Regions from separate parts of the Homo sapiens genome. Here all the other regions are linked to region 1. Evidence: promoter capture Hi-C in 16 types of primary human blood cells and fetal thymus (Javierre and others, 2016). All regions are on one chromosome and are shown on one strand. Each heading gives the region's core, a stretch centred on a gene start or on the middle of the fragment in contact. The rest is flanking DNA. Distances are from core to core; before and after follow the strand shown. Region 1 holds the start of ZNF133 (zinc finger protein 133). Region 2 has its middle 19 kb from the start of LINC01727. Region 3 holds the start of XRN2 (5'-3' exoribonuclease 2). Region 4 has its middle 2.1 kb from the start of TASP1.

Region 1 (3,229 bases), core at 4-2,503:
TGTCAGCCATCTGTGTCTTTATTGTACAGCCAGCACAAGTGAACACTTGAACACAGGCATCCCTGCATTGTTGTTCTGAACCTTTATGTGTATTAACAACTAATTTCTTGGTGATGACTGACTCATGAGGCAGAGAATGATGTTGAGGGATGAATCCAATTGACACTGGACATGTCTCCGGAGCCAGGACTGAACTGAATTCACAATAAATAATGTAGCCTCGGGGTACCAGAAGGGAATGGATTCACCCTCTGAGAGCTACAAAAGAATTTTAGGAAATTCTCATCTCCCTGGCCCTTCAGACAGTGGTCATTTTCTTGGTCTTCCAAGAGAATGACAAAGTTTCAGAAAGCCTATCTGAGGAAGGTGAAGGGCAGTGAGAGGGTGCACGGGTGGAAAAGCCCTCTCAAGAGTGACGTGGGCCTTCCCCTCGAGCTCCCCAGATGGGGCGTCCCAGATGGCACCAGCGCAATCTTGTTCTCAACCAGGATCCCGGACAAAGACCTAGAGATCCAAGCCGACGGCAGGCCAAGCTCTGGCCCGAGACTGAGGCTTCTGCTTCTCAGGAGATGAGAGTTTAACAATAACTTCGTGGATTTCAAAAAGAAGAAAAAGGTCTCAGGGCACCGGAAAAGGTGTATTCGGGTTGAGGGCGTGGGCTCAGAATCGGGTCTACCTCGTACGGGATGTGAGACTTCAGGCAGACTGCTCGGCCTTTTCAAGGCTTTAAATGGAGCTAAAGGGTATACGACATGACGTTCGCCCGGTGTTTAGGAATATGGGGCGTGACTTTCCAAGCAGGCGGCTGGAGCCAGGGAGACCACAGGCCGCTGCAACACAAACCAGCACCTGAACAAGCTTGGTCAGCCAGCGGTACACCTCCGCCAACCCCAGAAGCCGAACAGATGCGCCCCGAAACGTCATTTCCGCGCGCCAAGGGGCGGGGCCGGTACCGGGTGCGGAAGTCGCTCCAGGGGTCACTGGGAAGTGTAGTTTTCGAGACAGAGGCGCTCAGAAGGAGGGTCACAGTAGGGCCAGGCACTCTTCTCGGGAGCTCCTACGTGTTTTATGCACGTGGTTAAGAAAAAAGAGGGAGAATTCAGGTGCCACAGTGGCCATTCTCCGGTGACCGGAGCGTGTTACTCAGAAACGGATCCGTCAGAGGCCAATGGGAGCTGCCGGCCTTCAGGGCGCGCCTGGTGGCGCCGAGCATCCTGGGAGGTGTGGTCCGGGCGCTGTGCCGAGGATTCGGGGTAGTGTAGTCCTGGCGCCCCGCTGGAGGAGCTCCCCAGCTGGTGGCTGGAGCGACCCCTTGTTCTTTGGTGGCGCTGGTGAGTGAGGCTCCCGCGGGACCCTTGCCGCAGCCGTACCCTTTTCTGCGCGAAAAGGAAGGTCCCGAAAGGCTGGACTATGGGCTGAATTTGGGGACCGTGCGGGTGGCGCGGGGGTGGTGATTGTGGTGGGAACGCGCTGGCGTGGCGCAGGCCGTCCTCTCCCAGATGTCTTATTTTGGGGGTGTGGGCGTGCATCTCCAGGGGAGTTGGGTGAAGCCCATCCGTGAAACTGGATGGTGATGAGTGGGGGATCGGGCTCTCTCTCCTAGGGTTCTTGTGGGTGGGGACAGGTTCGGCTTTGGCTGAAGTCGGGTATTGGGAAAGGGAGTCGCTGATGCCATAAGTCCCCGGTTTTGGGGGAGTTGAATAAATAAGCTTTTTGGGGGAATGGTATTTCCCAGGTGGTGGAATGGGAACCATCCCTGGGGCCATGTGTCCCCGAGGCATTGGTCGGTTGAGGGCTAGTCTCTTGGGGCCACACTATTCTTCGGCTTTGCTGGAGTGGAATGAGGAGCGGTCTGGCTTGACCAAACAAGCCAAGGTTAGACTGGATCTGGGGTGGCCATTTTGCCGCGATCTTAGGGTTTCACTTTGGTTGGTCACCCCCGGGTTCGGGCGTTGGAGGAGGAAGTCTGGCTGGGACGCACAGGACAGGTTTTTTCCAAAGGTCCCAGGGACCGTCATTGATCGCAAGAATTACGGATTCCCAGGCCCCTGGTGTGGCCAGGCTTTGGGATTTTACATTCCATTTAAGTTTTTATTGCGGAGAAATTTCAAACAGCCAGAAGTAGATAGAACTCTATAGACCAGATCTCCATCACCCAGATTCAACACTTAAAACCTTATGACCAATCTTGATTCATCTCAGAATGGACACAGAGAATCCTTGCAATCCAGAGTTCACCGTCACTGCCCTTACTGTGTAAGAGCACGGTCTCCACAGCCACATTTCCTCTAGGCTCTGTCACTTTATAGCTGTGTCACCTTGGGCAAGATGCTGACTTCACTGTACCTCAGTTTCCTCGATTTTATCCTAAAGAGGATAATAGCATCTATCGTATTGGGTTGTTGAAAGGATAGAATGAGGTGAAACTCCTACAGTGGCTGTAACAGTCTCTGGTGTATACTAAGTGTTCAGTGAATATTACCTTTCATTAATAACAGGCACAGAGAAGGTCGCTTCATGCTCAGCGTCAACAGCATATCAGGGCAGGTCGTGCTTTCAACCTGTACCCCAGCTGTGTTCCCAGGAAGCTGCCCGCAGTTCTTTTCTCCTTTTCTTCTGTGGCAGGTTCATTCCTGATGCTGTTAAGGAATAGGAGGTACTGCCCTGCTGGAGAGGATTTCCCTTGATTTTCTTGAACGCTTTTTGTTCTTGTTCTGCCTCCCTGTGGCTCCTGTCTGCCCAGAGAGGACTGCCTGCTGGGGAAAGGGGGTACTCCTGAGCTCCTGACAGCCCAGCTTCAGGTGGGTGCCACTTACCTTTTGCATTTCGAACCATGAGTGGGTTTCTTTTGCTCAGCTTTGACGTCTGTGTTCTACAATGTCCCATCCAGGGATCAGGGCCCCAGCTGGTTCCTTCAGGAAACTAGGCTTGTTTTAAGAGTGATCATTTTCACAGGGAATATTTTTCAGAGCTGATGCTCTCATTCATTACACCTATATTCTTCCCCTACATTCCTTCTTTCAGTATTTGTTCAGACTGCTCATTCCCAGGGCTTGTCAGGTCCTGTGAAGTTGTTAACATTCTGTTCTTCTGTCTTCCAATACTCTCACTTACTCTTTTCCCTGCTAGAGTTTTGGCAGCAAATCCCAGTTATATCATTTCACCTGGGAACACTTCAGGAGGCATCTCTAACACATAAGGACTTCTTTTTTTAACATAACCACAATTT
Region 2 (3,705 bases), core at 505-3,004, 3.3 Mb after region 1:
CAGACATCTCGCTGGCCCAAACCAGAACCCTACCCTATGACCACTGCTAGCTGCAAAGTGGCTGGGGGACAAGAGGGTATTTTTGGAGTGGGCTTGCTCAGGCAGGTAACAAGGCTACTGAAGTTAGTCATTAAAACCTTCTTTTTTTTTTTTTTAGACAGATTCTCACTTTGTCACCCAGGCTGGAGTGCAGTGGTGTGATCTCTGCTCACTGCAACCTCTACCTGCTGGGTTCAAGCAATTGTCCTGCCTCAGCCTCCCGAGTAGCTGGGATTACAGGCGCCTGCCACCATGCCCGGCTAGTTTTTTTATTTTTAGTAGAGACGGGGTTTCACCATGTCTGCCAGGCTGGTCTTGAACTCCTGACCTCAAGTGATCTACCCTCCTTGGCCTCCCAAAGTGCTGGGATTACAAGTGTGAGCTACCACGCCCCGCCCATCAAAACCTTCTTAAAGGGGCACACATCCATATAATGCCCCCCAACTCCACACACCACTGTCTCTCCAGCAGTCACAAGCTGGAAATGGAGCTCCACCCTTGTGGCAGGGAATGCTTGTGCATAGGCCTCTGAACAGCCAGCCTATGCCTACCATCCACGTCCCAGGTCCTACTTCTAATAACTTCCTTTACAATGATAAATCCCTTAAAGATGGGAAAATTCTCATATCTCAATCTATTTGCAGGTATACCATACCTTGAATTTTGTTTGTGCTTAATATATATTTGCTGATTTTCTGAAGTGATTGAATTCTTTTCCTCTAAAGACAATTCCAGACTGTTCCAGGGGTGAACCTTGGGAATGGAGAATGGGAGCACTTCTTAGCTGGATCTTAGGAACATTGGAGTTTTCTACCAGATAACACTGAATGACATTATCTTTCTGTAAGTTCTCTGTTATGGCTGGTGCTTTAAGCTCATGCCTCTCCCTCCAGCCTCCATCTCTTGCTGGGTCTCTGTTGGCAGGTGTGTACCCAGGTACATCCAGTAGCTGAGTTGGTGACAGAAAGAACTGAAAAAACACAATCTCCAGCCTCCACATGATGAAAATCACAGGGTTGTTTAAATAGAGGGGGCTATTAATATAGATTTGTCCTTTTCTCCCTCCTTCTGCTTAATCATTGTCAGGAGGGCGGTAGAAAATAGTCTGCACACCAACAAGGCTCTGGAATAACTAATTGAATACTATAAACTTCCACCCAGGATTACAAGGAGGGACAGTTGCCTCTCCAGGGTGCTCATTTTGTTTCCGGATCCTGGCACAGGTTGGTCCCAGGCTCCTCTGCCGGGGCGACTATGTCCAGGGCCTTTGGGAACCACGGGCTGATTTGTATGTTCTCATTGTAACAGTTTCTGAAGCCTCAATTTCTGAGGTCTTCCATGGCACACTATAATTTCAGGATTGACAATGATGCTGACAAGAGTGAAAAGAAAACATATTTAGGGAAACAGGAATTTCTCTCAACCTTTATTTTGACATTCAGCAGTAGATGATGGATGTTTTAAATTACTCTTGATAAGAAGCTATCAGTAGGAGTTATTTTGTTTCACAGATACCTGGCAGGTCAAAAACACACTCAAATTGAACAAATATTCTCAAATTAAGTACGGGGAATAGTAAGGCCGAGTAGCTCATGCTGCAGAGAGGAAGCACATCTAAAGCTACAGTGAGTGCTCAAGGGAGCAACTCCTACATCATTTCCACAAGAAGCAAAGAAGAGACAATGGCTGGGAGTCAGAATGGAAATTAGGTGCTTGCTAGTTTAATCTGGAGAGCTGGAACTGACTTAAGGAAGAGGTGGAGAAAACCTACCACCCGGGCTGTCGGGAAGCTGGGGAGCTTGGACTGAAAGAACACGTTGTTTCAAGGACTCTTCATTTTCAAATGTCTTTCACAATTTACTTAATCTCTCCGAGGCCTTAGTTTCCTCATCTATAAAATGGGCTGGTAATATCCTCATTGTTGCTGTGAGGGCCAAGGAAGTGATGCATATGAAACTGCTTTGAAAACTGTGATGTACTCAGCTACGTGGGAGACTGAGGCTGGAGGATTGCTTGAGTCCAGGAGTTTGAGGCCAACCCAGGCAACACTGAGAGACCCTGTCTCAAAAAACAACACAAGAAAACAAAACTGTGATGCATCATGCAGCTGCTTTTCTTTGGATAAATAATATTTGCTAAGTAAAGATAGTAGATGTTCCTCCTTTGCAAACCATTTTCAACTTCTAACACAGCTATTAGAAGTTGTAAGTTACATATATAAAATTTATATTATTTGTAAATAATATTCATTGTGCAAACATTTACTGAGCACCTCTGTGTGCCATGCACTGTGCTTGGTGGCAGAGATATAAATCCATTGATAATTTTCTCACTGTAAATTCCTACAAGTTCTTTCTTTCTTTTTCTTTTCTTTCTTTCTTTTTTTTTTTTTTTTCTGTGACAGGGTCTTATTCTGTCACCCAGGCTGGAGTGCAGTGGCACAATCATAGCTCACCGAAGCCTCAACCTCCTGGGCTCAAGTGATTCTCTTCTCTCAGCACCCGCAAGTAGCTGGACTACAGTAGGGGCATGCAACCATGCCAAGCTAATTTTTGCATTTTTTGTAGATGTGGTTGTGCCATGTTGCCCAGGCTTGTCTCAAACTCCTGGGCTCAAGCCATTTACCCGCCTTGGCCTCCTAAAGTGCTGGGATTATAGGCAGGATCCACCACGCCGAGCCCCTATAAGTTATTTCTTTAAAATTATTGGGTTTACATGGAATACTATGCAGCCATAAAAAAATGAATTCATGTCCTTTGCAGGGACATGGATGAAGCTGGAAACCATCATCCTCAGCAAACTAACACAGGAACAGAAAACCAAACACCACGTGTTCTCACTCATAAGTGAGAGTTGAACAATGAGAACACATGGACACAGGGAGGGGAACATCACACACCGGGGCCTGTCAGGGGGTGAGGGCAAGGGGAGGGAGAGCATTAGGACAAATATGTAATGCATGCAGGGCTTAAAACCTAGATGATGGGTTGATGGGTGCAGCAAACCACCATGGCACATGTATACCTATGTAACAAACCTGCATGTTCAGCACATGTATCCCAGAACTTAGAGTAAAATAAAATAAAATAATTTAAAAGATAAAGTTATTGGGTTAAAGTAAGTGCAAATTTTAAAGATTTTTTATGTGTATTAACCAAATTGATTTCCAGGAAGAGCTTACTCTTTCATAGTTTATGAGAAGTGTTGGTTTTTCTGCCCTTTTGACAACACAGGGCATCATTTGAAATTTTTGTGCTGTCCTGGTTTATTATTTTAATTTTCATTTATTTTGTTGTTAATGCAACTGGATTTTTAAAAAATGTGCTTAATGTATTTTACTATTATAATCATATTAAATTAGTGTTTTGTATAAAGCGCCCACAGCAAAACCAAGCAAAAAAGAATATTGTCCTGTCTCTTTCTTCTACTTGCTGGATCATGATTCTCATGAGTGGATGAGAAGGAAGCTGTGGGCTTTGGCAGGTCTAGAGAGAAGCTTGAAGTGACATCTAGGAAGGAGGGTCTCCCTTGGAGTCTTGGAGGGGCCATCGAGGGCTGAGAGAGACCGTGGTGGGGCAGACAGCACTATCCAGCCTCATCCACAGAGGTGGCATTTTCCAGGCTCTGGCTCCTATAAAGGTGTGGGTGACTTCTGAAGCTGGATCT
Region 3 (3,732 bases), core at 1,233-3,732, 3.0 Mb after region 1:
CTTTTTATTTGATTTCTACAAGAAAAACCCATACCAAGCCTGAGTCTGACAGGCTTTACTGGACACATTGGGCCAGGGAAAGTGTCACAATACTTAGTCCATATCCTCCTGCCGCCTTTCAAGTTTCTTCTCTCTTTTACCCACTCCTTCTCTGAGTGCCAAAACTCCAATTTTAGTACTTCTATGCAAACCAATTTCACCACCCAGGTGAATTAGCTTGCACTCCCCAAATTTTGTTACTGGACTCTTTCCTTTGTAAGGGATAAGAATTTAGCCCAAGCCAGCTTAGGGCAAAAGGAAACTTTTGGCTGGGAGTGGTGGCTCACACCTGGAATCCCAGCACTTTGGGAGGCCAAGGCGGGCGGATCACAAGGTCAAGAGATTGAGACCATCCTGGCCAACATGGTAAAACCCCATCTCTACTAAAAATACAAAAATTAGCCGGGCGTGGTGGCGCACATTGGTAGTCCCGGCTACTTGGGAGGCTGAGGCAGGAGAATCGCTTGAACCTGGGAGGTGGAGGTTGCAGTGAACCGAGATGGTGCCACTGCACTCCAGCCTGGCAACAGAGTGAGACTCTGTCTTAAAAAAAAAAAAAAAAAAAAATTTGGCTCACAGAATCAAAGGACAGACTTAATCAAACTGCAGGAAGAGAGGGATTTAACTGGAACCAGGGAATTAACCCTGCTTCTCTCATTGCCTACTGGCAACAAGTCCCAATTCTTATCTTTTAGCGTTCACGCACTGGAAAGATGCAGTCTTAAATTTCTTATGGTTCAAAGCTCAAAAATGCTGGTAAGGCTGGGTGCAGTGGCTCACACCTGTAATCCCAGCACTCTGGAAGGCCGAGGTGGGCAGATCACCTGAGGTTAGGAGTTCGAGACCAGCCTGGCCAACATGGTGAAACCCTGTCTCAACTAAAAACACAAAAATCAGCGGGGTGTCATGGCAGGCGCCTCTAATCCCAGCTACTCGGGAGGCTGAGGCAGGAGAATCGCTTGAACCCGGGAGGTGGAGGTTGCAGTGAGCCTGGATCTTGCCACTGCACTCCAGCCTGGATGACTGAGACTCCGTCTGAAAAAACAAAAACAAAACAATAAACCCTCCCAACCCGCCAAAATGCTGGTTAAGGATTCTAAATGGCTCAACTTGGCCAGCTGTCTATCCCTGAACTGCCTATGGTGTACATGTTCCTATAACAGCACCTCCCAGGGAAACCAGAGGGGCTGCTTCCAGGTAAAAGGAGGAATTTCACCATAGACATAATACTTTGGAATAGTTTTGGCTATCCTTAAGTAAAACACGGGATGACTATTTCTCTAATTTCCACACTAGTAGTTTAAACAAAGTAGTCATCAGACCACAGAGGAGGGGGCAATAAATACTGCCTGTGAGGTAACTCGGCGAAATACTTTCACAGAGGCCTCATGAGGTGAGCATTTAGCATCGTGTGTGATGTGTGTCAAACCAAGAGGGGATTCAGGGAGACTTCCAGGCTTGAGCAAACGGACAAATATACCTCCTCTTCCAGACCTCTCCTTTCATATGGAAAAAATTCGTTTGGGACCACCAGAAAACAAAAGATAAAAGTATCGTGTTAGAACAAGGATGGATTAAAAATGACCTTTGCTTGAACTGAAACAGAAGCTATGTGCATAAGTGACTTAACTCCTCTGTAACTTGGCTTTCTTATCATTTACACGAGGGTGCTAACAGTACCCTCACAAGGTTCAAGTGAAGATTACATAGGACAATCCCTTAGTCAATGTCTTGGTACACTGTAAAGGCTCAGTAAATGCTGGAAAATCATATTAGCAACTATTTTATACCCGTAATTGTAGCTGGAAGATTGTATTGGATGCTAAATACCGGCTAGATTCCATTCGGTAACTATCATAATTATTTATTTGCATAACAATCAAATTATTGGTGCAAAGCAGCCATTATTACTGTAAAATGCTTTAAAATGCTCCTTTTGATAGTCCAGGTACGTACTGCAGCACAAAACTAGGAGAAACCAGGAAATGGAAGTAACGAGTAAGTTTGGATGCTTCGATTCTACCCTAGATTGAGACGGGTGAGCATAGAGGCAAAAAAAGACATTTTCTTCCAAACAAGAGGTGACCAAACGGGCAAGGGAGACCTCCTCCCGGGCATGCAGAGCGCAGCGATTCTGTGCCCAGGGAGCCGGAGGGCTGGGGCTGGGAGATCCCGGCGGAGCCCCGGCAGAGCAGTCGCCCGTGAGCCCCCGCAACTCAGACGCGCTCGGCCTCGCGCTCCGGGGCTGGGACCACCGAGGGCGAGCTGCAGCCTTCGCCACCCGGTCCGCCGCCGGACTCCGCCTCCCACAAACAGCCCGGCAAGGCCCTTTTCCGCCGCTCCCTCATCCAGCGAAGCCTCCTTCCCAGCTTCCCCGGCGGCGGCGCCGTGACGTCACTTCCGTTCTCCAGCGCGCACGTGGGAGGAAGTGCTGGTGCCCTCTGCCGCTGCTCCCGTCTCTTTGGTTACGCTCGTCAGCCGGTCGGCCGCCGCCTCCAGCCGTGTGCCGCTATGGGAGTCCCGGCGTTCTTCCGCTGGCTCAGCCGCAAGTACCCGTCCATCATAGTCAACTGCGTGGAAGAGAAGGTGAGGAGGCGCCAGGCGGCCGCCACACTCGAGCCCGGGCCCCCGGCACGTCTAGGCCGCGGCCCATGGGCTCCGCCGCCTGCCCCCGGGGAGCCTTGCCGGAGCTCGCGCCCTGCTGCCAGCCTCGCGAGCAGTCGCAGCCCCACACGCGATGGGACGCGGGCTGTGGGATTCAGCACCCCGGGGGCGAGGAATTCAGGACCCTCGGCGGGGCAAGGGCCTATAGGGTTCCGAACTCGCAGGAGGGTCGCTCCTCCCCTACTCGCTTTTTCCCGGCACCGGAAGGCCCCGCCCACTGCTTTGTTTCCTCTCCAGACCGCGCATTTTGGGTCTCGGAAGAGGTTCAGAGGCTGTTGTTGAGCAATGCATGCCAGGTCAGCTGAGCTAGCGGGTTATGGATGCACGGATTCGGAGGCCAGCTTTTTGACAACCTTGTAAAGGAATCCCTGGCGGCGACCTTTTCGTTGTTTACCAATTGTGCCGGAAAGGTTTTCTCCTAGTGTTCAGGACCATTTGTTGTTCTGGTTAGATTGGACGCTGAAAGCAGTATGTCAGGTCCAGGATGAGCGCTATAGAATTCTGAGAAGTTACCCTTCTCTGTGTGCCCTGACTACTGAACGGGGTGGGTGCTTGTTGAAAATTTCAAGATTACTGGATGTACTTGAGCAGTACAATTTTTGTTGTTAGTTAATACGTAAGTAGATTTTTGGCCATTATTGAGTTTTGTTTTTATTGTTTTCGTCATTCCATGCGGATTCGATTTTGTGCTCTTAATTAGAATTTCTGGATTGGAAACGTTCAGAGGCACATCACGCGTACCTCACTCCTTAGTTTTTGAAGGCAGTGCTTGCCTGTCACTGTGAACTTATTTCTGCTTTTTTTTTTTTTTTTAACTTTCTTGGCTTCTATCCAAGGAGGAACCAAAAGCCTTGTCTTAGTGACATTCCCACTATTTCTTGTTTTTTTCAAAAAGCAACTGCTAAATTGAATACTTGTTTCCTTTGTAAAATTTTAATCGAACTTTATTGAACTTTACTTGCACGTGGGTTAAACAAAAAGCAACAGTTCTTGCTCTACCCCTTCTCATCCCATTTCTCCACCTTTAAC
Region 4 (3,295 bases), core at 757-3,256, 4.6 Mb before region 1:
ATGACCCATGACTGATGGATTTTCCTTATACTTCCACCAAAACATCACGTCGAACTGAATGTAAAGGCAGAAATGAGAATCTAACTGGCTTCTTTAAGCCAGCTATAGAGGAATTTACACTAATGCAAAAGATAACACTTTTCTTACCACATTTTTTTGTTTTTGGAAAATATTTATTCTTCATTAAAATGTCTTAATTATATTAACACATAATGGTTTATTATTGTTATTTTAAATAACTTTTTAACATTTCAGTTTTTTGTTGGTTTTTTTCTTTTTTTTTTGGAGATGGAGTTTCACTCTGTCAACCAGGCTGGAGTGCAATGGCACGATCTCGGCTCACTGCAACCTCTGCCTCCCGGGCTCAAGCGATTCTCCTGCCTCAGACTCCTGAGTAGCTGGGATTACAGGCGCTCGATACACACCCGACTAATTTTTTGTATTTTTAGTAGAGACGGGTTTTCACCATGTTTGCCATGCTGGTCTCGAACTCCTGACCTCAGGTGATCCTACTGCCTTGGCCTCCCAAAGTTCTGGGATTACTGGCGTGAGCCACCGCACCCAGCCACATTTCAGCTTTGTATTCAATTTTTAATATAGTAAATATTAATAGATGTAACCCACAGAAACAAAAGCTTTGGAGTGTTCTCTACTATTTTGGGGAGTATAAAGGTATGCTGAAACCAAAAAGTTCGAGAACCACTGATACCATTATTATAAATATAACCTATGTGGTTTTATTATGTAACTTGGGGCTTTTTTTCTTTCTCTTCTACCACTGACTTCTTAGGGAGGGGCAAGGGGAAGAAGTTTATTACATAGTAAGAATAACAGTTTATTACATAGCAATAGTAACTGAAACCGATTTTGTTACCTAGAAGTAGGATGGATATTATAACAAAACATAACATAATAACATCATAAAAGTAAAACGTGTGGCACTGGCTTTGGAACTAGGTGAAGCAGCAAGAGCAGGAAGGGATCCAAAGTATTAACAAGAGTCTAAAAGGACTTGAGGAAGCTGCCAATGAGGGCTTAAAGGGAGCTAAGGAAGATGTTATTGGAAGCTGGAGAAAATGGGGCCCTTGTTATATAGTGCCAGAAAGTTTGGCCCAGGCATTAGGAAGCAGACATAAACCATCCCCATTGTGACCTTTCTGAATTCCTCACCCGCAGAATCCATCAGCATAATAAAATAGTTGTTCTTTTGCACCTTTAAAGTGGATTTTTACACAGCAATATTAACTGGAACCAGCAGGAATAAAAGAAAGATGTTAAAGTTTTAAAAAGACATAGACATGCTCCCTTCCATTTCTTAGGCAACATTCTTCCTGGAATTTAACTACATTGTAATAATCATCTCCCAGTGCTGCTCTGTATACTTTTGTCTTGGGTATCACACCCAGATGCCACACAGGCCATCCTCTGGTAGGTGAATACTGCTCAAGTAAAAGTAACAAAATTCTTCGGACCCTTTTTTTTATTATTATTATTGAGGCAGAGTCTCACTCTGTTGCCCAGGCTAGAATGCAGTGGTGCGATCTCAGCTCACTGCAACCTCTGCCTCCCCGGTTCAAGTGATTCTCCTGCCTCAGCCTCCCCAGTGGCTGGGATTACAGGTGCCCGTGACCACGCCCGGCTAATTTTTGTCTTTTTAGTAAAGATGGGGTTTTGTCATGCTGGCCAGGCTGGTCTCGAGCTCCTGACCTTAGGTGATCCACCCATCTCGGCCTCCCAAAGTGCTGGGATTACAGGCATGAACCACCATGCCCAGCCCAGACCCAAGTTTTAACATTTTTAACCTGCATTGGGTACAGTAACAATGAGATCCTTTGAAATATTAATAACGAACAGTTGTAATATCTATTTGATTAACTCAACATGTTAAATTTGAAAGGAAAGTCTATACTAGTAAATCTCCTTCAGAAAAAATCTGGTTGCCTCCCTCTTCCTGTTCCCACCTCTCCCAAACCCGGAAAAGCAGCAAGCTGAGGAATTACTTCCTTTATCTCAAATAATCATGTCTGCTGCATCTTGATCTTTGTACTCTAAGTAAGCCCCCTCTGTCCTGGTTCCCTGGGGGTCTCCCTTTGTTTTGTATTCCTGGAAAACTATTGCTTTAACACATGTGTCAGAAATGTAGCAGAACAATAGTGATAGTTTTCAATTGTTGTGCCGCAAGTTAACACCAATTCACCTGCTTAAGACAACACAAATGTAATATTTCCGTTTCTGTGGATCAGGTGTCCAGGTCTCTGCTCAGATCTCAGAAGGCTGAAATCAAGGTGTCAGTCAGAGCTGCCATCTCATCGGATGCCCAGAGCGATTCTCCAAGCTCATTCAGGTGATTGGCAGAATTCAAATCCTTGCAGCTGTAGAGCTGGCCACTTTTGTCTTCTTCAAGGTCAGGAGGAGCAGTCCTCTCTGACTTTTCCACCTTGAAAGGACTCAACTGATTAGGTCAGGTCCCCCAGGATAATCTCTCCTTTGATGAACACAGAGTCAATGATTCGTCGTCAAGTTTCAGGAGGGATGGCCATCATATTCTCAGCTTCCATCCACACTCCAGGGGAGAGGATCATACAGGGTCTGTGCACCAGGGGTAGAAATCTTGCAGGTCATCTTAGAATTTTGCCTACCACGTGGAAAAAAGAAAGTTTCAATTATAGATGGACTGCGACAACCCTTCAAGCAGTCCTATGGTAGACAACAGTTGTTTCGCCTGCCCAGCATGAATTCCTTCTTATTTCTCCTAACAGCACCCCACTTCACTTCCAGGGACTGCCCTTCACCACTTGCACCCAGCGTAAGTGGGACTGTCCATCAGGATGCTCCGTGGGATGATCAACTGACCCATGCTAAGCTAAAGCTGCTTCTTGCCTGGAATTTGAAAATTGACAGCAATAATGCAAAGAGTAAAAGCAGTTGTTTATTCAACCAAGGTTACAGAGTTCCCTGTTACTGCTCCAGAGCTTGTATTTTTCCAAAACCTGCTTCCTTAGTTTTTCTTTCAATTATCTTAGGTACTCCCTATCCTTCCAACAAATTCCTTTTATCTTCTTTAATATATAAAATTTTGAGCAAGACAAATAATCCAGAGATTACTTGACTCCCATGTCAAGCCCTGATGACAACACATTGTCTTCGGAGCCCTGACGAAGACTGGTAAGATGAAAGGTGGCCCACCTGCCATCTCTGGTTTCATCCTTGTTGTCTGTCAATTATCTGGCCAGCTATGTTGTCATCCCCCATTCATAGGGCAATATAAATATTCTTCCTGCACAACAAACTGTCT

Evidence for each region. Contacts are between HindIII fragments. The CHiCAGO score rates a contact against its expected background, and 5 or more counts as called.
Region 2: a fragment that was not itself captured here is called in contact with the fragment with the promoter of ZNF133 in region 1 in 1 of 17 cell types (naive CD4 T cells); the score reaches 5.0 in naive CD4 T cells.
Region 3: the fragment with the promoter of XRN2 here is called in contact with the fragment with the promoter of ZNF133 in region 1 in 4 of 17 cell types (total B cells, monocytes, activated CD4 T cells and 1 more); the score reaches 12.6 in total B cells.
Region 4: a fragment that was not itself captured here is called in contact with the fragment with the promoter of ZNF133 in region 1 in 1 of 17 cell types (naive CD4 T cells); the score reaches 5.0 in naive CD4 T cells.

The regions. Positions count from the first base shown.
Region 1 is chr20:18,287,274-18,290,502 of GRCh38, forward strand. It overlaps ZNF133 (zinc finger protein 133), which reads left to right and starts at 1,254. Exons shown (of 7, transcript NM_001352452.2): 1 at 1,254-1,331. RefSeq lists enhancers at 827-876, 956-1,861, 967-1,306, 1,867-1,986. The HindIII fragment of the contact is 851 bases long and covers 857-1,707 here.
Region 2 is chr20:21,548,844-21,552,548 of GRCh38, forward strand. No RefSeq gene overlaps it. Among named protein-coding and RNA genes, the nearest start is that of LINC01727, 19 kb to the right of the region's middle. The HindIII fragment of the contact is 3,557 bases long and covers 1-3,533 here.
Region 3 is chr20:21,300,849-21,304,580 of GRCh38, forward strand. XRN2 (5'-3' exoribonuclease 2) reads left to right here and starts at 2,483. Exons shown (of 30, transcript NM_012255.5): 1 at 2,483-2,625. The coding sequence starts at 2,551. RefSeq lists a silencer at 2,181-2,310 and an enhancer at 3,031-3,080. The HindIII fragment of the contact is 6,284 bases long and covers 1-3,732 here.
Region 4 is chr20:13,639,423-13,642,717 of GRCh38, forward strand. No RefSeq gene overlaps it. Among named protein-coding and RNA genes, the nearest start is that of TASP1, 2.1 kb to the left of the region's middle. The HindIII fragment of the contact is 2,746 bases long and covers 634-3,295 here.